7 separate regions of the Homo sapiens genome follow, and regions 1, 2, 3, 4, 5 and 6 are each linked to region 7. Evidence: promoter capture Hi-C in 16 types of primary human blood cells and fetal thymus (Javierre and others, 2016). All regions are on one chromosome and are shown on one strand. The core of a region is centred on a gene start or on the middle of the fragment in contact, and the rest is flanking DNA. Distances in the headings are between cores, read along the strand shown. Region 1 overlaps ULK4 (unc-51 like kinase 4). Region 2 has its middle 32 kb from the start of ULK4. Region 3 has its middle 12 kb from the start of ULK4. Region 4 holds the start of LOC107986077 (a long non-coding RNA gene). Region 5 has its middle 58 kb from the start of TRAK1. Region 6 overlaps ULK4 (unc-51 like kinase 4). Region 7 holds the start of ENTPD3-AS1 (ENTPD3, EIF1B and MYRIP antisense RNA 1).

Evidence for each region. The method cuts DNA at HindIII sites, captures the fragments that hold promoters and counts their contacts. A CHiCAGO score of 5 or more calls a contact.
Region 1: a contact is called between a fragment that was not itself captured here and the fragment with the promoter of ENTPD3-AS1 in region 7, in 4 of 17 cell types (monocytes, total CD4 T cells, non-activated CD4 T cells and 1 more). The highest score is 8.9, in monocytes.
Region 2: a fragment that was not itself captured here is called in contact with the fragment with the promoter of ENTPD3-AS1 in region 7 in 1 of 17 cell types (monocytes); the score reaches 5.3 in monocytes.
Region 3: a fragment that was not itself captured here is called in contact with the fragment with the promoter of ENTPD3-AS1 in region 7 in 1 of 17 cell types (neutrophils); the score reaches 6.5 in neutrophils.
Region 4: a fragment that was not itself captured here is called in contact with the fragment with the promoter of ENTPD3-AS1 in region 7 in 13 of 17 cell types (non-activated CD4 T cells, naive CD8 T cells, activated CD4 T cells and 10 more); the score reaches 21.4 in non-activated CD4 T cells.
Region 5: a contact is called between a fragment that was not itself captured here and the fragment with the promoter of ENTPD3-AS1 in region 7, in 2 of 17 cell types (naive B cells and naive CD8 T cells). The highest score is 5.8, in naive B cells.
Region 6: a fragment that was not itself captured here is called in contact with the fragment with the promoter of ENTPD3-AS1 in region 7 in 8 of 17 cell types (naive CD8 T cells, non-activated CD4 T cells, activated CD4 T cells and 5 more); the score reaches 16.4 in naive CD8 T cells.

The regions. Positions count from the first base shown.
Region 1 is chr3:41,912,879-41,915,735 of GRCh38, forward strand. It overlaps ULK4 (unc-51 like kinase 4), which reads right to left. Exons shown (of 37, transcript NM_017886.4): 9 at 1-21. Among named protein-coding and RNA genes, the nearest start is that of ULK4, 48 kb to the right of the region's middle. The HindIII fragment of the contact is 3,179 bases long and covers 1-2,857 here.
Region 2 is chr3:41,993,050-41,995,853 of GRCh38, forward strand. No RefSeq gene overlaps it. Among named protein-coding and RNA genes, the nearest start is that of ULK4, 32 kb to the left of the region's middle. The HindIII fragment of the contact is 8,427 bases long and covers 1-2,804 here.
Region 3 is chr3:41,972,875-41,975,574 of GRCh38, forward strand. No RefSeq gene overlaps it. Among named protein-coding and RNA genes, the nearest start is that of ULK4, 12 kb to the left of the region's middle. The HindIII fragment of the contact is 3,700 bases long and covers 1-2,700 here.
Region 4 is chr3:42,013,424-42,016,473 of GRCh38, forward strand. LOC107986077 (a long non-coding RNA gene) reads right to left here and starts at 146. Exons shown (of 2, transcript XR_001740668.2): 1 at 1-146. It also overlaps a transcript of TRAK1 not described here. RefSeq lists silencers at 79-198, 289-358, 399-558, 619-688 and enhancers at 879-1,018, 1,412-1,913. The HindIII fragment of the contact is 945 bases long and covers 1,287-2,231 here.
Region 5 is chr3:42,031,606-42,034,546 of GRCh38, forward strand. It overlaps a transcript of TRAK1 not described here. Among named protein-coding and RNA genes, the nearest start is that of TRAK1, 58 kb to the right of the region's middle. The HindIII fragment of the contact is 8,766 bases long and covers 1-2,941 here.
Region 6 is chr3:41,953,757-41,956,822 of GRCh38, forward strand. It overlaps ULK4 (unc-51 like kinase 4), which reads right to left. Exons shown (of 37, transcript NM_017886.4): 2 at 866-1,051. The coding sequence starts at 1,003. It also overlaps the pseudogene RPL36P20. Among named protein-coding and RNA genes, the nearest start is that of ULK4, 6.8 kb to the right of the region's middle. The HindIII fragment of the contact is 6,668 bases long and covers 1-3,066 here.
Region 7 is chr3:40,452,058-40,454,951 of GRCh38, forward strand. ENTPD3-AS1 (ENTPD3, EIF1B and MYRIP antisense RNA 1) reads right to left here and starts at 1,251. Exons shown (of 4, transcript NR_040100.1): 1 at 1,065-1,251. RefSeq lists enhancers at 985-1,054, 1,075-1,144. The HindIII fragment of the contact is 7,917 bases long and covers 57-2,894 here.

The DNA.
Region 1 (2,857 bases), core at 315-2,814, 1.5 Mb after region 7:
AGTAGCCTTGTCCAAGTCAATCTTTAAAAAACATAAATGTTAAAACTCTACTTTAACATGATTTACCATGAAAAATTCCCAAGACATGTCCCAATTACACATAGCAGATTTTACAAGGTACACATGTACCTTTGAAATCATTTTATATTTTATTATTTCATTTTTGTATGCTATTAACCTCTTTTAGACAGCAAGATAAAAAGAAACAATTCAGAAGCATTAAATGGTACAGAATGAAACAGTCTGATAACTAAGCATTAGAAGTTTCAGGGTTCAAATTCCATAGAGTCTGGTTTCTCCAACCAGCCTAGGAAAAACGGAGTCGATAAATAATTTGAAATTCTTTTTTTTTTTTTTTTTTTTTTGAGACGGAGGCTGGCTCTGTCACCCAGGCTGGAGTGCAGTGGCGCGATCTCGGCTCACTGCAAACTCTGCCTCCCGGGTTCACGCCATTCTCCTGCCTCAGCCTCCCGAGTGGCTGGGACTACAGGCGTCCGCCACCACGCCTGGATAATTTTTTGTATTTTTAGTAGAGACGGGATTTCACCGTGTTATCCAGGGTGGTCTCGATCTCCTCACCTCGTGATCCACCCGCCTCCGCCTCCCAAAGTGCTGGGATTACTGGCGTGAGCCACCGTGCTCAGCGTAATTTGAAATTCTAAAGTAAATATATCAGATATCTATAATCCTGTCATCCTTTATTTCACAACAGAGGCAAGATTATTTTACTTACCCTAACTGACACATTTAAGTTTTGGAACTATTCTGTTGGAAATTCATTCAGGAATAAATAAGAATATCAGCCCAGGTGTAGTGGCTCACACCTGTAATCCCAGCATTTTGGGAGGCCAAGGTGGGTAGATTGCTTGAGTCCATGATTTTGAGGCCAGCCTGGACAATGTGGCAAAACCCCATCTCTACAAAAAATACAAAAATTAGTTGGGTGTGGGGGCCCACACCTATAATCCCAGCTACTTGGGAGGCTGAGGTGGAAGAATCTCTTGAGCCTGGGAGGGAGAGGTTGCAGTGAGCCAAGATCACACCACTGCACTCCAGCCTGGGTGACAGAGTGAGACCCCGTCTCCGGGAGGGGGTGCGGCGGTGGGAGGAAAGAATATCAGCTTCATAACCATATACATTCACACCTTGTTTAGGAATCAAAATAATATTACCTAGCTAGTTCACTTGCATTAAAATGACTTTAGGTTGTATTTAAAACTCAGGCTCACTTTCAAAAGATTAAGTTTCACTACTAATAGAGTATACCTCTAGATATACTCACCAGAGTGGGAAAATTAAGCCTGACTGAAATTTTAAAACAAAAAAGAAAAGAATTTATAGTCGACTAATCATTCAAAATTTCTGTATTAAATAAAATTACTTCAATCAAAAGTAAAACACAAATAATAGAATTTGCAACCACATATAATATTCCTTTACACAAAGGTTCTTATGGTTCACTAAAGGAGAAATAAAAATAGCCAACAAAGTAAAATGTATTTTCATCCATCAAACTGACAAAAATGTAGATCAACAAGGCACACTGTAGATGAGAGTGGGAGGGAAGGAGCTTTCTAACATATTGTTGCTGGGAGTGTAAATCAGCACATGTTCCTAGAATGCAGGAAATGTATCAAACTTTTTAAATGCTCTTAGCCTTTGGCCAGCCATTTCATTTTGAGAAATTCACATCAAAGAGATAACTAACCAAGTAAACCCAAAAAAATTTTAAAAATTCACAAAAGGATATTTACTGTAACAACACATATAATATTCCAAATCAAGAGGCATTCTAAACGTTTACTTTTTTATAGGTAATTGTATATACGTTCTACAGCCATTTAAAATGACCAGGCAGCCAGGTACAGTGGCTCACACCTGAAATCCCAGCACTTTGGGAGGCCGAGGCAGGCGGAACTGCTTGAGGCCAGGAGCTCGAGACCAGCATAGCCAACATGGTGAAACCCCATCTCTACTAAAAACACAAAAATTAGCTGAGGATGGTGGCACGCGCCTGAAATCCCAGCTACTTGGGAGGCTGAGGCATGAGAAACACTTGAACCCAGGTTGCAGTGAGCCAAGATTGTGCCACTGCACTCCAGCCTGGGTGACAGAGCAAGACTCAGAAATGGAAATGGAAAAATATGCATAATGTACCATGAGAGAAAAAAGTAGGTTATGGAGTGGTCCCATGTAAGCAAAAAATTATATAGCATACAGTTATAAATGTAGGGATATGTGGATACACCGTCTTAAGTAAATTAGGTATAGTTACATCCTATCAAAAGATGTCTGAAAAATTATCCACCAAAATAACACTAATGTTGAAAGCATTCTAATATAAGTAAAGGATGTTTGTCCTACAGCTTATACAAAAATCAGCATTTCCTTCTGCAGTTTTTAAAATATATTTAATAAAAGAATGGATTCTTGTATATGCTACACTAAATTTATTCTCCATTTTATAAACGGAACCCTCCTCCCATCACCCCATCCCAGTTACCTAGTGACAGAACCAGAACTAGAAACTAGTTGTTTGGGCCTCTTTCCCACTCTGGTCTACCTCCTAGCCTCCCCTACCCTGTGCCTCAACAATGATTTCTAACATTGCCATCACTGACAGAAAATTCACAAGGTGCCTATTATCCTATCACTTAATAGCCCCATTATGACAGGAGTGTCATAAAACCTGTTTTTATGACACTCAGTTAACAGCATCTTAACTTGACAATATCATCCCTCGGTCAATAGTCAAACAGTTTTAGCCTGAAATACAAAATACAAGAAATGGTACCTCTTGGATTTGGGAGTTATAAGAAAATTTGTCAACTACTTAATACATGAAAAGAGAAACTGA
Region 2 (2,804 bases), core at 152-2,651, 1.5 Mb after region 7:
GGCTCACTGCAAGCTCCATCTCCCGGGTTCACACCATTCTCCTGCCTCAGCCTCCCAAGTGGCTGGGACTACATGCACCCGCCACCATGCCCGGCTAATTGTTTTGTATTTTTAGTAGAGATGGGGTTTCAGTGTGATAGCCAGGATGGTCTTGATCTCCTGACCTTGTGATCCACCTGCCTCGGCCTCCCAAAATGCTGGGATTACAGGTGTGATCCACCACTCCCGGTCTCAAGCCTTCTCTTTCTAAAGGAGAATTTAACCTTTTAATATTTACTATAACCATTGATAACTCATTGGCCTTATTCTTGTCATATTTCATGTTTTGACTATATTATGCTTTATCAGTTTCTCCTCTATTGATTTAGGTGTCCTATAACAATTTCAGTTAACACCTAATATCTAAAAAAATTATATTTCTCCATAAAAACTATACACAGCACAGGATGAAACCTACATTTATTTATTTATTTATTTATTTATTTAGTTAGTTAGTTAGTTAGTTAGTTAGTTAGTTATAGAGGTTCTTGCTCTGTTACCCAGGCTGGAGTTCAGTGGCACAATCATAGCTCACTGTAGCCTCGACCTCCAGGCCTCAATCGATCCTCCCATCTCGGCCTCCCGAGTAGCTGGGACTATAGGTACGCACCACCACACCTGGCTAATTTTTGTATTTTTGGTAGAGACAGGGTTTTGCCATGTTGCCCAGGCCGGTCTCGAACTCCTGGCCTCAAGTGATCTGTCCGCCTTGGCCTCCCAAAGTGCTGGGATTGCAAGCATGAGCCTCCACGCCCGGGTGAAACCTCTCAATTTACCTCGTTTCTCCATCCTCTTCCTTCTCCTATGACTTCCCAGATTTTGTAGAAATAGCATATTTTAACTTGAAATTATATTTACTTTTTATACTTAAACATTTCTTTAGTAACCAATTCATTAACTATCTTCATCATATTACAAATTATTTAAACTTTTTCTTTTAAAAATATTTAACCACTATACTATGAGGAACAAATTATTTAAACTTTATTTTATTTTATTTTATTTTATTTTTTGAGATGGAGTCTCCTTCTGTTGCCCAGGCTGGAGTGCAATGGCATGATCTTGGCTCACTGCAGCCTCTGCCTCCCGGGTTCAAGTGATTCTCTCACCTCTGCCTCTGGAGTAGCTGGTACTACAGGCATGTGCCACCACGCCCAGCTAATTTTTACATTTTTAGTAGAGACAGAGTTTCACCATGTTGGTCAGGCTGGTCTCAAACCCCTGACCTCAAGTGATCCATCAGCCTTGACCTCCCAAAGTGCTGGGATTACAGGTGTGAGCCACCATGCCTGGCCAAATTATTTAAACTTTAAATCATACTGGTTTCAATGTTTATCACTATTTTTAAAATAAACCTTTTATATTAGAATAATTTTAGATTCACAGAAAAATTAAAAAGATAATACAAATTGTCTCCATATGCCCCACGCCCAGTTTCCCCTACTATTAACCTCTTACATTAGTATGGTACATTTGTCATAATTAATGAACATATACTGATGCTTGTTATTAATGATAGTCCTCATTTTGTTCATATTTACTTAGTTGTTACTGAATGTCCTTTTTCTGTTCCAGGATCCCATCCAGGATACCCCATTACATTTAATCATCTTGTCTCTTTGGGTTCTGCCTCTGACAGTCTTTCATACTTTCCTAGTTTCTGATGACCTTTCAATTTTGAGAATTGCTGATCAGGTATTTTTAGACTGTCACTTAATTGGTATTTGTCTGATCTTTTTCTCATAACCAGACTGGGGCTATTGGTTTTGGGGAGGAGGAGCATGGAGATAAAGGAGATAAAGTGCCATTCCCATCACATACTACTAAGGGAACATACTATTGGCATGACTTATTACTGTTGAGTCAATCTTGATCACCTCACTGCCTGAGGAAGTGTTTGTCAACTGTCTCCACTGTGAAGGTACTCTTTTTTTGTTTGTTTGTTTTTGAAACAGAGTCTCACTCTGGAGTGCAGTGGCGCAATCCCAGCTCACTGCAACCTTCATCTCCCGGGATCAAGTGATTCTCCTGTCTTCTGCCTCAGCCTCCCGAGTAGCTGGGACTACAGGTGTGCACCACCATACCCGGCTAATTTTTGTATTTTTAGCAGAGACAGGGTTTTGCCATGTTGGCCAGGCTGGTCTCGAACGCCTGACCTCAGGTGATCTGCCCACCTTGGCCTCCCAAAGTGCTGGGATTACAGGCATGAGCCACGATGCCCAAGCCATACTGTACTCTTTTGAAGGAAGTCACTAAGCACAGCCCACACAGACAGAGTGGGAGTTATGCTCCATCTGTTAGAAGTGGAGTTCTACATACTTTATTTGGAATTCTTCTGTATGGGAGATTTTTTTTCTTCTTCCCCATGTATTTATTCATTTATGTATTTATGTCAACATGGATTCATGGATATTTATTTTGTACTTTGAGTTATAATCCAATACTACTTTATTTATTTTGTTGCTCAAATTCTTCCAGCTTTGGCCACTGGAAACTTTTTCAGTTGACTCCCATGCCCCTTTGACATAAACCCCATGATTGTGGGTTTAGTTTTTGTTTTAGTATGTCTTTACTTCCTGGCATTACAAGATACTCCAGGTTCATCTTGCATCACTGTGTTTTGCATGTGGTCTTTTAGCCTTTTTATTCGGATTATTATTATTATTAATTTTTATTCATTTTTTTTTGAGTCGGAGTCTCACTTGGTCACCCAGGCTGGAGTGCAGTGACACGATCTCAGCTCACTGCAACCTCTGCCTCCTGAG
Region 3 (2,700 bases), core at 34-2,533, 1.5 Mb after region 7:
GCAGAAATTAATGAAATAGAAGGCAAAAATCCACTAGCCAGGGGCATAAATTTAGAAGGCAGGAGATGGTTTCCATGGTGCTCTTCCAGGTTGTAAAGCTGGCTATGATGTCATGGGGTCTCCAGTCCTCTTTAGGATATAGCGTGCTCCACTCTCAGATTACCAACTCAGGGAATGGATTCTCCTAAAGACAGAAACTGGAGGCTGGGAGCTTCAAGACTGATGCTCCCGTTTACTCTGGAAGACCTGGGAAGTAGCACGATAATTCTTCCAGCACTAGTGTATTAGTGAATACACTGGAAGAGCCAGACACCGTCTCCCTCTTGGATGGGAGATTTTCACCCTTATAATAACAACCTAAGAGTCCTTAAAATCTGTGGCCTTCTGGGATGTCTTTTTCCTTTAATAACCATATTAATGATTCCAGCATCCATTGCACATACTTGGCAACTCCAGAGTAGACTGGATTTTCAGGGAAATAATATTTTTTGGTCTTTTCTCACAACAAATTCCTTAAGTCTTGCTTCCTTCTCATCATCTTATCTCTAGCACATGCTAGTCTCATCTGACCCTGCTTCCCCTCACACATTTGACAGTGTAGAAGGGGACCTTTTTTTCCTCTATTCTTATAAGTTCTGTGACTGAGACCTGTGACTTTCACTGACCAAAGACAGATTAACAGGAGAAAAGCATACAAATTTTGTTTGATAATATTCTAAATTTTATGTGCACATGGAGGCCTTCGTAGAAAAGAAAGGAAGACTCAAATAAATGACTAGACCCAGGGGCTTATATATCATTTTAACAAAGAGCAATAAAATGTAGAAACATGAAGAGGCAATGGAAAAAGAGATTTGAGCTAAGGGGCAGTCTCACTCTGTCACACAGGCTGGAGTGCAGTGGCATAATCTGAGCTCCCTGCAACCTCTGCCTCCCGGGTTCAAGCAATTCTCCTGCCTCAGCTTCTCGAGTAGCTGGGCCTACACATGTGTGCCACCACACCTGAATAATTTCTGTATTTTTGGTAGAGATAGGGTTTCCGCATGTTGACCAGGGTGGTCCTGAACTCCTAGCCTCAAGTGATCAACCCATCTCAGCCTCCTAAAGTGTTGGGATTACAGGTATGAGCCACTGCACCCAGCCAGATGTATTATTTTAGTAAGGTTTGTTTCAACAGATTCATGTTGGTGTCAATTCCCCACCACCATTGATAAGAATGTTCTCTTTTTCCTGGTGCAGAGAGGGTAACTTTCTGGCAGGAAATTTATGCCCTCCTTTTAGGTAGAAAGAGGAGGTTAGGGAACACTTCCTGCATCTGCTGTTTCTCTCATCCAAGTATTAACAAGCATGACCCTGAAATCAGCTGTCTCTCAGTTGCCTTCAGTTCAAAATAGTCGATATGTCTAAGTGGCATGTTTTGGGATGGCATGTTCTGATCTTCTTCAACAGCACCTTTAAAAGTACTTTCCTTCTCCTTCTTCATTCCCCAAAGCCCATGTTACTCTGTGACACATACTTTTACTGAATGTGTGGCAATAACAGAGAGAAGTTGCAGCATAGAAAGAAAACAACTTAAAATTGAGTATTAAACATGGTGATGGTAAGGGTAGTAGAAAGCAGGCACTTGCACAGTGCTGATGGGAGAGCAATTTGGCAGTATTCATGAAAATGGCAAATGCACATCCCCATTCAATCCAGCAATTCCACTTCTAGGAAGTGATATGATCTCGGGTCACTGCAACCTCCACCTCCCGGGTTCAAGTGATTCTCCTGCTGCAGTCTCCCAAGTAGTTGGGACTACAAGCACGCACCACCCACACCTGGCTAATTTTTGTATTTTTTAGTAGATACGGAGTTTTACCATGTTAGTCAGGCTTGTCTCCAACTGCTGACCTCAAGTGATCTGCCTGCCTTGGTCTCCCAAAATGCTGGGATTACAGGTGTGAGCCACCACACTCGGCCTGTACATCATATGATTTAAATGCTTATTTTAAAATTATATATGTGTGTATACAATTATATGTGTGTATATACACATGTAATATATAAAATATCTATAATGTATACATGTGTATATATGTGTATATACCTATACATTACAGATATGTAAATGTGTACATATATATACACATATATGCATTATACACATATGAATACATATATTCTGATTTTCTTCAATAGTTCTTTTAAAAGAACTGTTTGCATATACATTTGTATATGTATATAGGTATACACATATATATACATGTAAGCGTGATGCCTCACACTCACAGGTAACCTAGGGCTCTGCCTGAAGCTCTTTCTATTTTCCCTTCTCACCTCTTCTACCCAGTCTTGGACTTCCCCCTCTTTCTTCCTTGTCTTCAGGGAAAAATTATTTATAAGTCCTATTATGTAGTCTGGGGCAGCATTTGAAATCTCTATTAATCACTTCCCTCTAGATGAAACTGACCTAATCTGTTATCTGCAAACATCATTAAAGAGTTTTCCTAAACAAATGTCTCCCATCCCTGATATTTACCTTCAGCAATTCAAAGAATTTGCAGATTATTATAATTTAAAGTTTTCTCTTACAAATTCAGGCCAAACTATTAGGTCAGCCTCCCTGAACAATCTCCAATAGGACAAGGGAGAGGTGCTCTCTCCTTGTCCAGAATAAAAGCTAGTTTCCTTTCCTCTTTCCTGGTACAGAGTTAACAC
Region 4 (3,050 bases), core at 509-3,008, 1.6 Mb after region 7:
CGGATACTTCTCTGTGCCCCACGGCGTGGGTAAAAGTGCAGGGGCAGCCGCGGGCGAGGAAGGCGGGGCGCGGCTCCAGGCGACTAGGACGTGGCCGGCGGGCATCCTGGAGGGCGGCCCGCAGGTGGCGGCGCGGGGCGGCGGGCGGGGCTGGGAAGGGGGAGGGCTCGGCGCGCGTCGGGCGGTGACGGCAGCGCGGAGGGGAGGTGCAAGCCGCCCGCTCGCGGGGGAGCCATGGCGAGAGGCCGCGCGGCGGCGCCCGCAACAGTGCCCGCGTCCGCAGCAGCGCCCCCGCCCGCCGCCCCGGGGCCCACCCGGCCGCCGCCCCCGCGCGCCCCGAGCCCTTGACGCCCGCGCGCCTCAAGCGAGGCGTCCCCCAGAGTGGGGCCGCGCGCGGGAGAGCCGGAGCGCAGCCTTAGCGTCCCCGAGAGTCTCGAACGCCCCGACGACCCCCGCGTCTCGGAACCCCGGACTCCGAGCCCAGGAGCGCCAGAGCGGCAGGCGGGCAGCAGGAGGCGGCGGCGCCAGAGCGGAGCCCCCGCGAGTGCCCCCGTGCCGCCCGGCCGGCTGCAGCGGAGGGAACCGAAGCCGCCGGGCGGCCGGGGCCGGGCCGAGAACGACGCGGAGGAAGCCCCCACCGAGGCCCCCCGGCACCGCGCCTGCTGCCGGGTTGCGCTCCGTGCACCTCTTGCGGGTAAGCCAGGGGTCCGCTCACCCGCGCCGCCTGCGCCTCGGGCCCAGGGGCTGGGGAAGGACACGGGTGTTCTGGGAGTGTCCGCGTGAGATAGTGGCGGCGTGAGAGGCCGGGCGCCGGGACCCTGCGGGGACAGCCCTCCTAATGCACCGGCCGCACCTGCAGGAGGCCCTCGGAGCCCGGAAAAGTGCCCCTAGGGCATCGTGTCGGCCACGCCGCGTGGCCTGGATTCCGCGCTCCGGCACTCCGAGGTGACAGTGAGGCGACCTTCAAAGAGCCTGGAGCTGAGCGCGGGCAGCACCCCGATTCCCACTCACCCGCAAAACTTGATGAAAATGACATCATCTGAGCGTGTCAGAGAGCAGAGAGCCTTTAGAGCCCTCCTTTGCATCCTTGAGAGTTAACAAGTTTACTTTGTCACTTTCTTGACCTGATTTTTAAAGTTCTTTTCTAGTCTCCAAGGTCAAGCTCTTGCAGGTAAAAACAAATGTAATGAACTGTATCGTTTCTTCTTTTGTAAAGTTGTGTTTCAGGAAAGATGTTAAAAGTCGGCCTGCTCTTGAGGCTGGTGCTGGGTGCCCCTTCCGCTTTAAGCTTGCCTGTTTTAGAACCCGTGGCTGCACTTGTTCAGACACTGAAATTAGCGTCCGCTTTGAGAGCCTTCAGAGTATTCGTCGTTGGACCGCTGATTTTTTTTTTTTTCTGATATGCTTCACTGGAACTTTATTTGCTTCAAAAGTGTAAACGTTGTCAATACTGTCTGTGAGTGTGTATTCGGGACTGGTAACCTTTTCTGGAGGGTCTTTTGTTTATCTGGAAGGAGAGTGGAGGTTACCATAGGGAAACGGTCTAGTTCCAGGGTCCTTTCCAATTTCCAACTACAAGAGCAGCGAAGAGGAAGGTGCTCAGACTAAGCTCTGATTAGCCCTGGAGCCAGTCTGCACTGGGGAGGGTCTCCCCAGATTGAGTGAAGGGACAACAGGCTGGGAGCTTGACTGGTAGGTTTGGAGAGTTGGACCTGGAGTGACAGATGGCGCCTTCCCCTCTGTCTCTCGGTTTGGAATGGTCATACTCGGTTGCTCTTTGATCTTGGACCTCAGCTTTGTCACAGAGGTTCCCAGCCCAGTGTAGCCTAAGCCAGCTGGAAAGCTGAGCCCGGCTCTGGGGGATGCTGAATCGGTTTAAAGCCCTTGTCTCAGGGCTGCGAGTTTGGCAACAGTTGGGTTTCAGCTTGGCCCCAGCACCAGCCGTTTCCTGTTTGATGCCCCAGGGACCAGTTTCCCATCCCCAGCGCTCGCTTGAGGGTGTCTCCACTCTGGCTGTGTTGCTTCTCCTTCTCTGTGGTCTTGGAGTGGGAAACCTGGACTGAAATTCCAACTCCTCTCTATTGGCTGTGTGACCTTACTTAACCTCTCTGTCCTGCTCTCCCCTCTCTGGGAGACAATGTTTTAAATGGAGGTGTCTGTAAAAGTTTGACTGAATGACATGGGAGCGTTTTCAGGTCTCCTTCCAACATGATTGGGTTTGTAATTTGGTAAGCTTTTTGAGCCCCAACAGGGATAATAAAGCATATAATAGTAATTATTGTTTTATAGGTTTATTATGAGGGTCAAATCAGGTAATATAAAAGAGCTTTGGGCCGGGCATGGTGACTTGTGCGTGTATTCCCAGCATTTTGGGAGGCTGAGGCAGGTGGATCACTTAAGGTCAGGAGTTCGAGACCAGCCTGGCCAACATGGTGAAACCCCGTCTCTACTAAAAATACAAAAATTAGCTGGGCATGATGATGGGCACCTGTAATCCCAGCTACTAAGGAGGGTGAGTCAGGAGAATAGCTTGAATCCGGGAGGCAGAGGTTTCATTGAGCCAAGATCCCGCCACTGCACTTCAGCCAGGGCGACAGAGCAAGACCCCATCTCAAAAACAAAAACAAAAACAAAAAACATAAAAATAAAAGGGCTTTCAAAAATAATAGAGCACTATTCACATTGAATGGAGTTCTTAAACTTTCACTTTCCAAACTAACAACACCTTAAGGTTTGCCATCTTAAGTGGACTTTGTTCCTGTCATTGCATTCTGGTTTTTTGTTTTTTTTTTTCTTTTTGAGTCAGAGTGTCGCTCTGTCATCGAGGCTAGAGTGCAGTGGTGCGATCTTGGCTCACTGCGGCCTCCACCTCACAGGTTCAAGTGATTCTTTGGCCTCAGCCTCCCGAGTAGCTGGGATTGCAGGCACCTGCCACCACGCCCAGCTAATTTTTGTATTTTTAGTAGAGACGGGGTTTCACCACTTTGGCCAGGCTGGTCTCAAACTCTTGACCTCGAGTGATCTGCTGGCCATGACCTCCCAAAGTGCTG
Region 5 (2,941 bases), core at 139-2,638, 1.6 Mb after region 7:
TCAGGGGACAGAGCGAGACCTTGTCTCAAAAAATAGTTTTCTGAACATTCTTCAGGTGATTTGATAGTACTTCCTCAGTATATGTGTTGTAAAATTTGCTTAGGCTGTGTCTGGATGCAGTGCCTCATTTGAAATTTACTGTTTTCAAAATGATCCTTTTAAGAGTGGGGCTGTCTGAGGTGCGTTTCCAGTTTCCTCACGGCATGGATAATAAAATGCCCCCAGAGTAAAGATCAGAATTTCAGGGACCAGGGAGAGTATAAAAAGATTAAACAGCTGATCCAAGGCTCATCATTATCACTCTTGCTCACCTCAACAATCTGAGATTAGTTCCCTCCCTGCAAAGCTGCTGGCTCTGAGCACAGCATGGGTTAGGGGGCGGGGAAGGGATGGGGCATGGGGTGAAGTCTGAATTCTTCCCCATCTTCTGAAAAGTGAGGGGAATCAGCTCCTTCACCCGCAGGCCTGGAGAGACTGAGTCAGGAGTGCTTAGCGGGTTTCCTTTTTAAGTGTGTGCTGATGCTTCAAGTGGGTAAGTGGCTGAGGTTATCAGTAGAGACTCTAGAAGGTGCAGTTCTCTTGGAATCTGAAGTATTTGAGGACAGAAAATCATGCTGCTTTCTGGTGGAGTATGGTAAGAATAATCAACACGGAGAGTTGGGCTTGTTTGGGGATTGCAGTGAGTGAGGCATGCCTGGTTAATGCAGAATGTGCTGCTCCTTCCCAGGCAGTGGCTGCAAGGCCTCTTTCCTTTCCTCTGTGCAGTGCAGCGAGGCTGCCCATTGTCCCATGTTGTTCGTAGCCAGGCGTGTCTTGCCAAGTACTGTGGGAAGCCCCAAGATTTTGCTCAAATACACCCGGAGTGGGTCAACCTGAAAAAAAAAAAAAAAACCATCTTTGCAACCTCCAGCCTCTTCTCAGGCTTTTCCTCTATGTCTTATTGATATCCAAATAAATAAATATCAAACAAATTAAGAGCCAGATGAATACCATTGGCTGTCTTTTGTATTAATGTTGGCAACAAGACTATTGTCATATCTTTTATTTCCTCAGGGTTTCTTTTTGCTCCCAGTCTGGCAGCAAACATTTTGTAACCCCATAAAACAAGTGTGGTAGGCTGCTTTTCTTCTTATAATGAAACTATGTTGCCATTGGAATTAAAACACTGGCTGCCAGGCATAGCGGTGCGTGCCTGTCGTTCCAGCTACTCAGAGGCCGAGGTGGGAGGATCTCTTGAGCCCGAGAGTTCAAGGCTGTGGTGAGCCATGATTGCGCCACCTGCACTCCAGCGTGGACAACAGAGTGAGACCTACTCTTGAAACAAAACAAACCACTGACTGGCTTGTTTGGAAATGTGGGAAGGAATTTTTCCTGTGGAGTTATGATCAAGTCAGCTTTTTTAGAAATATAAATTCTAGGCCAGTGTTTCCTTAAAAACCAATATTTCGATGTGTTTGTTCTGGAAGTATTAGCACATCACATTCCCAGTGCTTTTTAATGGGCTCTGGGTAATTACCGCGGCCTCCCATCTCAGCCAGTACAGTAAGCCATTCAAGAGGACAGCCGGTGCTTATTACCCAGCAGCCTGGCAGTCTGTGACCCCTCCTCCTTGGAAATGTGTGAGGCGCAATTAGAGAGCTCTGGTGTGGGGATAAGGGATTGCTGGGGCATAAATAATGCAATCTATGCTGTCGTTCTGTGAATGTGGTGGGGCGGAGCGGCTTTGGTGTTTGGAAGCCTGAACCTCAAATTCTGGATTCAGCATGTTTAAGATCTGTGATCTTGGTAGCCTGGGTAATGTAGTGAGACCTCATCTCTACAAAAAAATTTAACATTAGCCAGGCGTGGTGGCACACGCCTGTGGTCTTAGCTATTGAGGGGCTGAGGCAGGAGGATCACTTGACCCCAGGAATTTGAGGCTGCAGTGAGCTGTGACTGGGCCACTGCATTCTAGCCCAATCAACAGAGCAAGACCCTGTCTCAATCAATCAATCAATCAATAATCTGTGATTTTGGGCAGGTCCTTAGCCTATGAGCCACAGTTTTTTCATCTAGAATAAGACTGTGTAGTGTGGTTGTGGGGATTAGATAAGGCAATATATATAAAGTTCTGCCTTGCTCTTGCTTGTTGACAGCATGTAAGATGCATTCGGTGAAGGAGATCTCTGATCTCCATTCCTTTGGGACAGGTGATGTGTTGATATTTTCTCTTTTTCCTCCCTCTACTCCCAGACTCTCTGCCTCATTCCTTGAAGACTGGGAGATTTGGCTCAAGATCATCTTCCCCTGACATACCGCTGCATCATTCTGGGTTCCAATGACTCACCTAGCATCTTGATCCATCTCCTGTCCAGTGGTGGCTTCTCCACCCTGCTTCACCCACTGCCCTGGTCATAGCCTGGACTGTGTCATCTCCTGGAGTTACCTGTTCATCTGAAATCCTGAGTACAATCACCTTGTTCCCTGAATGCCAGTCCTCCTATCCCTCTGCAGACATTCCTTGCCCCATCCATGTTCTGGCTTTTCCCCTGCACCCCATTCTTTCATCAGTGAGCACCCATTGTCCTTCCTTTGTGCACCTGGCAGGACTCTGCCCCTGCCTTCTGAGAGCTGCTGGAGAAATCACATAGTCACCTATCAATCCAGCATGGTGACCCTGTAAACCAGTGTCAGCTGGGTCATAGGGTCCTTTTTTAAAAAATTTGAGACAGAGTCTCACTGTGTCACCCAGGCTGGAGTGCAGTGGCACAATCACGGCTCACTGCAGCCTCGACCTCCCTGGGCTCAGGTGATTCTCCCACCTCAGCCTCCTGAATAGCTGGGACCACAGGCATGCGCCACTACACCTGGCTAATTTTTGTATTTCTTATAGAGATGAGGTTTCTCCATGTTGTCCCGGATGGTCTAACTCCTGGGCTCAAGTGGTCTGCCCGCCTCAGTC
Region 6 (3,066 bases), core at 445-2,944, 1.5 Mb after region 7:
TAGTTTCCAGGCTGGGCTCAGTGGCTCCTGCCTGTAATCCCAACACTTCGGGAGGCTGAGGCAGGCAGACTGCTTGAGCTCAGGAGTTTGAGACCAGCCTGGGCAACATAGCCAAACCCCGACTCCATGAAAAATACAAAAAATTGGCCGGGCGCGGTGGCTCACACCTGTAATCCCAGCACTTTGGGAGGCCAAGGTGGGCGGATCACAAGGTCAGGAGATCGAGACCATCCTGGCTAACACAGTGAAACCCCGTCTTTACTAAAAATACAAAAATTAGCTGGGTGTGGTGTCGGGCACCACTACAGCTACTCGGGAGGCTGAAGCAGGAGAATGGCGTGAACCCGGGAGGCACAGTGCAGTGAAGCTGAGACCGTGCCACTGCACTCTAGCCTGGGCGACAGAGTGAGACTCCGTCTTAAAAAAAAAAAAAAAAAAAGAAAAATACAAAAAATTAGCCAGGCGTGGTGGTATGTGCCTGTAGTCCCAGCTACTCTGGAGACTGAGGTGGGAGGATCATCTGAGCCCAGGAAGTTGAGGCTATAGTGAGCCCAGTGCACTCCAGTCTGGGCAACAGAGAGAGACCCTGTTTCTAAGGGAAAGAAAAAAAAAGAGTATAGTTTCCCCAATTTATACCCACCCCCAAAAAAAAGAAACAAAAAAGAAAATTAAGTTAGTCATTACTTGGATATGTTTATTACTCATTATTCAGGACTGGTGGCACTGAACAGATGAAGGTCATCCATTCCAGACTGAAAATGTGGCATTTGATATATCAAATTCAATGACTACTGTGAAAATGCTACCCCCTTCTACCTATTGTAGCTCTCTCTTTCCCCATGCCAATGGAAATACACTGACTTACCCAGTTGGTTATTTCAGGCCTTTTGCACTTATCAGTACAAAGAATGGCTACAAAATTGATTGTTCCCTTCCGTCGCCCTTTATAGACAACAGTCTTGCTTCCTCTTCCGATCTCCTCATACAGAATAAAGTTTTCCATCTCTGGGCCGACTTCTCACATACAATAGAATAACAGCATCTCTAGCTCCTAAGAAGTAAACAAAAATGACATTGATAAATGCAAGTTAGTTGCATAATTAATTAGCCTAGGATAATTAGCCTAGGATATTATATGTGTAAAAAATCTAGCAAATCGACAAATTCAGAAAATTCACTTACAAATGTTAAATACTAATGCTGATATTTTTGCAGGATGAACGAAACTACGGGGCAAATAAATAAAACTTCACAGCCGGCGCAGTGGCTCACGCCTGTAATCCCAGCACTTTGGGAGGCCGAGGCAGGGGGATCACCTGAGGTCAGGAGTTTGAGACCAGCCTGGCCAACATGGTGAACCCTGTCTCTACTAAAAATACAAAAATTGGCCAGGTGTTGTGATGCGCGCCTGTAATCCCAGCTACGCGGGAGGCTGAGGCAGGGGAATCGCTTGAACCCGGGAGGCGGAGGCTGCAGTGAGCCGAGATCGCACCACTGCACTCCAACCAGGGCGACAAGGAGAGACTCCAACTCAAAAATCAATAAATATTCACAAACCAATATTCAAGTTCCCATCAACAAGATGTTTTAAAAACACAGTGGCTGCCCGTGCCTCTAGGGTGGGTAGATATCCCAGCATTCCGTGCGGTCGGCCCTTCAGCCGCTGCCGCCATTGGAGACCAGCAGCCATGGCTCTGCGCGACCCTGTGGCCGTGGGCCTCGATGAGGGCCACAGAGTTACCAAAAATGGGAGCAAGCCTGGCCCAGCCACCGCCAAAGTGGGCAACTGACCAAGCACACCAAGTTCATGCGGGACATTATTCCAAAGATGTATGGCTTTACTCCCTACGAGCTGGCGCGCCATGGAGTTGCTCAAGGTTTCCAAGGACAAACGGCCCTCAGGTTCATCAAGAAGAGAGTGGGGGACACGTCCGCACCAAGATGAAGAGAGAAGAGCTAAGCAACGCCCTGCCCGCCATGAAGAAAGTGGCCACAAAGAAGGACTGAGGCCCCATACCCTATCCATAAAACCTTCACAGAAAAAAAAAAAAAAAGTGAAAATAACAGCTATTTCGAAAAACGGTAACAAAATCAGGGTATGAATTAGATTTTATCCAATGTGTCTCCATCTTACTTTCTCCGTTACAATGGAAACCTGGTACAAGGGAAAACAACATCTGCACAGTGGGATAATATATGTGAGGCAGGAGAACAGGGTCTGGAGGCAGGGAACCTAAGGCTGTTTCACACTGACTTCCTGTAACTAAATTGAAAGGAAAACCCTAACTTTCCACGCCTAAGTAACAAAAGGACCAGAGGCTATTCCCTTTGCAAATCCCCCACCTTTTCTATGCAGCAGATGACCACAACCAATCAGACTGATTGGGGCGTAGTCTTGGTTTGCAACTTTGTAACTTCACCTTAGCATCTGACTGGTTGCAGAGAATGGAATGAATGAATGAATGAAATGGAATCAATGAAATTGGCTGACTGCAACCAATAGACCGATTGCAGGCCACCACTTGATTTACCGGAGGTGAGCGTGAAGAGGCCAGTGGGAAAGCTCTAGGGGGTATTTGGACCGGGTATCTGTATCCCTGCCCTCCAGTGCTGCTCAGGTGGCTCCCACACTGTGGAGTGTACTTTCGTTTTCAATAAATCCCTGCTTTCATGCTTTTGTTGCTTCATTCTTTCCTTGCTGTGCTGGGCATTTTGTCCAGTTCTTTGCTCAAAATGCCAAGAACCTGGACAACTTGCGGTCAAGACCCTCTACTGGTCTTGACTGGTATGCCCCACCTAAACCTTATAAATTTTGAGAAGCAAAAGAGAAACATATGCCCCACCTAGACCTTATTAATTATGAGAAGTAAAAGAGAAAACAAGTGAAAATACAGTATAAACAAATATGGAATGATATTTCCATGTAATCCCTAGACTGCAGGAGTCAATCCAAGTATCATGAATACTACTGGCTCATAGGCCAAATTGGGTGTGCTGCCTGCTTTTGTAAATAAAGTTTAATTGGAACATAGCCACACCCATTCATTTATATATTGCTTATGGCTG
Region 7 (2,894 bases), core at 1-2,500:
ACCTAAGTCACTTTAACACAGAGATACAGCTTCAATTTACAAGCAGCCAGTTGCAAAGCTTCAGAAAAGGTTTTCAAAAAAACAGGACAATGGGTCCACTCTGCAGTCTAGGCCTGATGTTGACCCTTTTTCACAGTCCTGCTTTGTTTTGAGGCTATTAAAACCCTGCTTCATTTAAGTTCCATCTAAACTTTACACTTCCTCAAAATCCTGTAACTTTATATTTTCCTTCCCCTGGTAAAATGTCCCATGGTGTCTCTGGTGTGCAATCTCCCTCATTAAAAAAGATCGATAGACCTGGTTTTGCTGACTACAGGTTTGTCCCTGGTGGTCTTAGGCTGACTGGGCTTGAACAGTCTTGCTCAGCTTCAGGGTTCCTAAGATTGCAAATTTCAAAAACTGATACAACAAACATTTTTTCACTCCTAAATACAAATGCACCTGTCCACGTTGCCAGGTAGTTATGCACATGGCTACCATGTCAATTTGGTCATAACTAGGGTTAGGTCACTTCTCTGGAAGGTTAGTTATTAAGAACAAGAAAGAAAGTCAGGGTTCTGCACAGCTTTTGGTTTGATTCTTGTACTGACTTATGTTTCTTTTTCTTTGGGGCTACAGGTAAATATTTTGTCTGCTAAACTGACGCCCCCATCGCCAGTGTCTGAACAAACAAAACTGAGACATATCTAGTCAGCTGAAGCTGACAAATACAGGGGCCAATCTGGTTACAGGCAGGCAGTCCTGGCCTCGTGACACCGCAGAGACTGTGGGACAAGTGGACGTGCTCCTACTGTCCCTCGCATCCCCCATCTGGGCCGCGGGACTAGTGCCCTCAGGTCTATGACCCACTGCAAGAACCCAAAGCTCGACGCCCGCCCAGCCCTTCACATCCGTCCCTTGCAACAAGCAAGAGAAGAGGGGCGCGGCTTCAGGGGACGGGCGACGGTTTACAGGACAGCTCGTACACAGTACCAGCTGACATCCCCTAAGCCTGAGTGTCTAGGCCCCTGCCTCCACATTTAAGAGCCGACTGCGCCCCTTGGTGATTGGACGTCCGGACGCACCTTGAGTAGAGGCCAAGCAAACTATCGAGCCCGTCCAAAACGCCATATTTGTAACTGACGTCATCCTCATGTTGCCTTTCCTCTCTGTGATTGAGGAACCAATCAGTTGGGTGTAGCAGACGGGGCGTGGCTCTTCAGGTAGAGGCCGAAGGGGCTGAGAGCGGTCCCAGGCGGCCATCTTGATTCCTGGCATCACTCTCAACGTGCCCTCCCTCTCCGTGATTGGACGAGCAGGGCGGGCCTTCCGGAGGCACACAGCCGACCAACCAGAGATCTGCGCGTGCTCGATCTGGTCATCTGTTTTCTGACATCTGGAGCCACTAGCAGTTATCCTGTTCATTCCTGGGCGCCTGCGACCTTCCGAAGGAAACAAGACTTGCTTGGGGAAAGTTGCCTTGCCAGTATAGTGGAGCTTGGTAGAAACTTAAAAACTGCCTGGGGCTGCCTGGGATGGGGATCTCGAGATGCTTGTGGGGAGCACATTTTAGGAAACAGGGGGCTCAAGCTGCATGAAATGCTGCGGGAAATAGGAATGAGAGACGCAGAATGGTCGGAGAAAAAAGCTAGGAAGGTGTTTGGGAGTAAGATTTTGGAGTGCCTTGAATGCCAGACTAGGGAGTTTGGACTATATCCTGTAAGATAGGGGATAAAAATCAACTTTAAACAGGAGTGATATAACAAGATAATGTACTTTAGAAAATAATTCTGTAACTGTAGGGGGAGTCCCAAAGTGTTTCTCAAATTGTGTTCGGGGAAGTTCAAAGTGTGTTTGAGAGCTTGTTTTTATATGCAGATTCTTGCCCCTCACCAGACCTGCAAATAAAGTTCTCTGGTTGTACAGCCAGGAAACTGCATTAAAAAAAAACTTTTTAGGTTAACATACATTTGGTGAGAAAACGCATAAACCATATGGATAGGGCTCTGAATTTTCACAAGCAAACACTTCAGCCAGGCGGGGTGGCCCGTGCCCCTAATCCCAGCTACTCGGGAGGCTTAGGCAGGAGAATGGCTTGAGGCCAGGAGTACCAGATCAGCCTGGGCAACATAGCAAGACCCGTCTCTAAAAAAATTTAAAACAAAAATAATAACACACTCCCGTAGTTAACACCAGATGAAGAAACAACATGGCCAGCAGCTCAGAAGCTCCCCTTTTCCCCTTTAGCCACTGCTGCCTGCACCAAAGGTAAATATGATCATTACTTATAAGAACTGTAGATTAGTTTTGCCTGTTTTGAATTTGATATAAATAAAAGCATACAGGATATATTGTGTCAGCTTATTTGTTAGTGTTATTTATGAAATTCATCCGCATTGTTCCATGTAGTTGCTGTAGACTCCGTTGCTATAGATTGTTATCACAATTTATCCAGTCTCTTGTTTATGGGCCTTTGGGTAATTTCCAGTTTGGAGATAGTAGCAAAAAAAATGCTAAAATGAACATTCTTCTTCATTCATATCTTTTGCTTTGTAAATTATAAAGCAAGACAACAAGACCTAAAGACTGATTCATTCACTACCTATTTATTGAGCCCCTTACCAGACTAAGGTGAGAAAATAAAACAGAAAAGACAGCAAAGGTCCTGCCCTCATGGAACTTATTCTAACTGGAACGAAACAACACCTACGTGGGCAGCAAAACAAGTCAAACAATTGCAATTGTGATAACTCTGAGGGAAACAAGGTGAGCTAGAAAAAGAAGGGTGGGGACTTAACCTTTTTTTATGTGGTAGCCTGGTTAACTCTCAGAAAAATATCTAGGAAAAAATACAAGAGATAAGTTGGCACTGCTACACGATGAGTATTAACAATGGGTAGACCATTCCTGGCAAG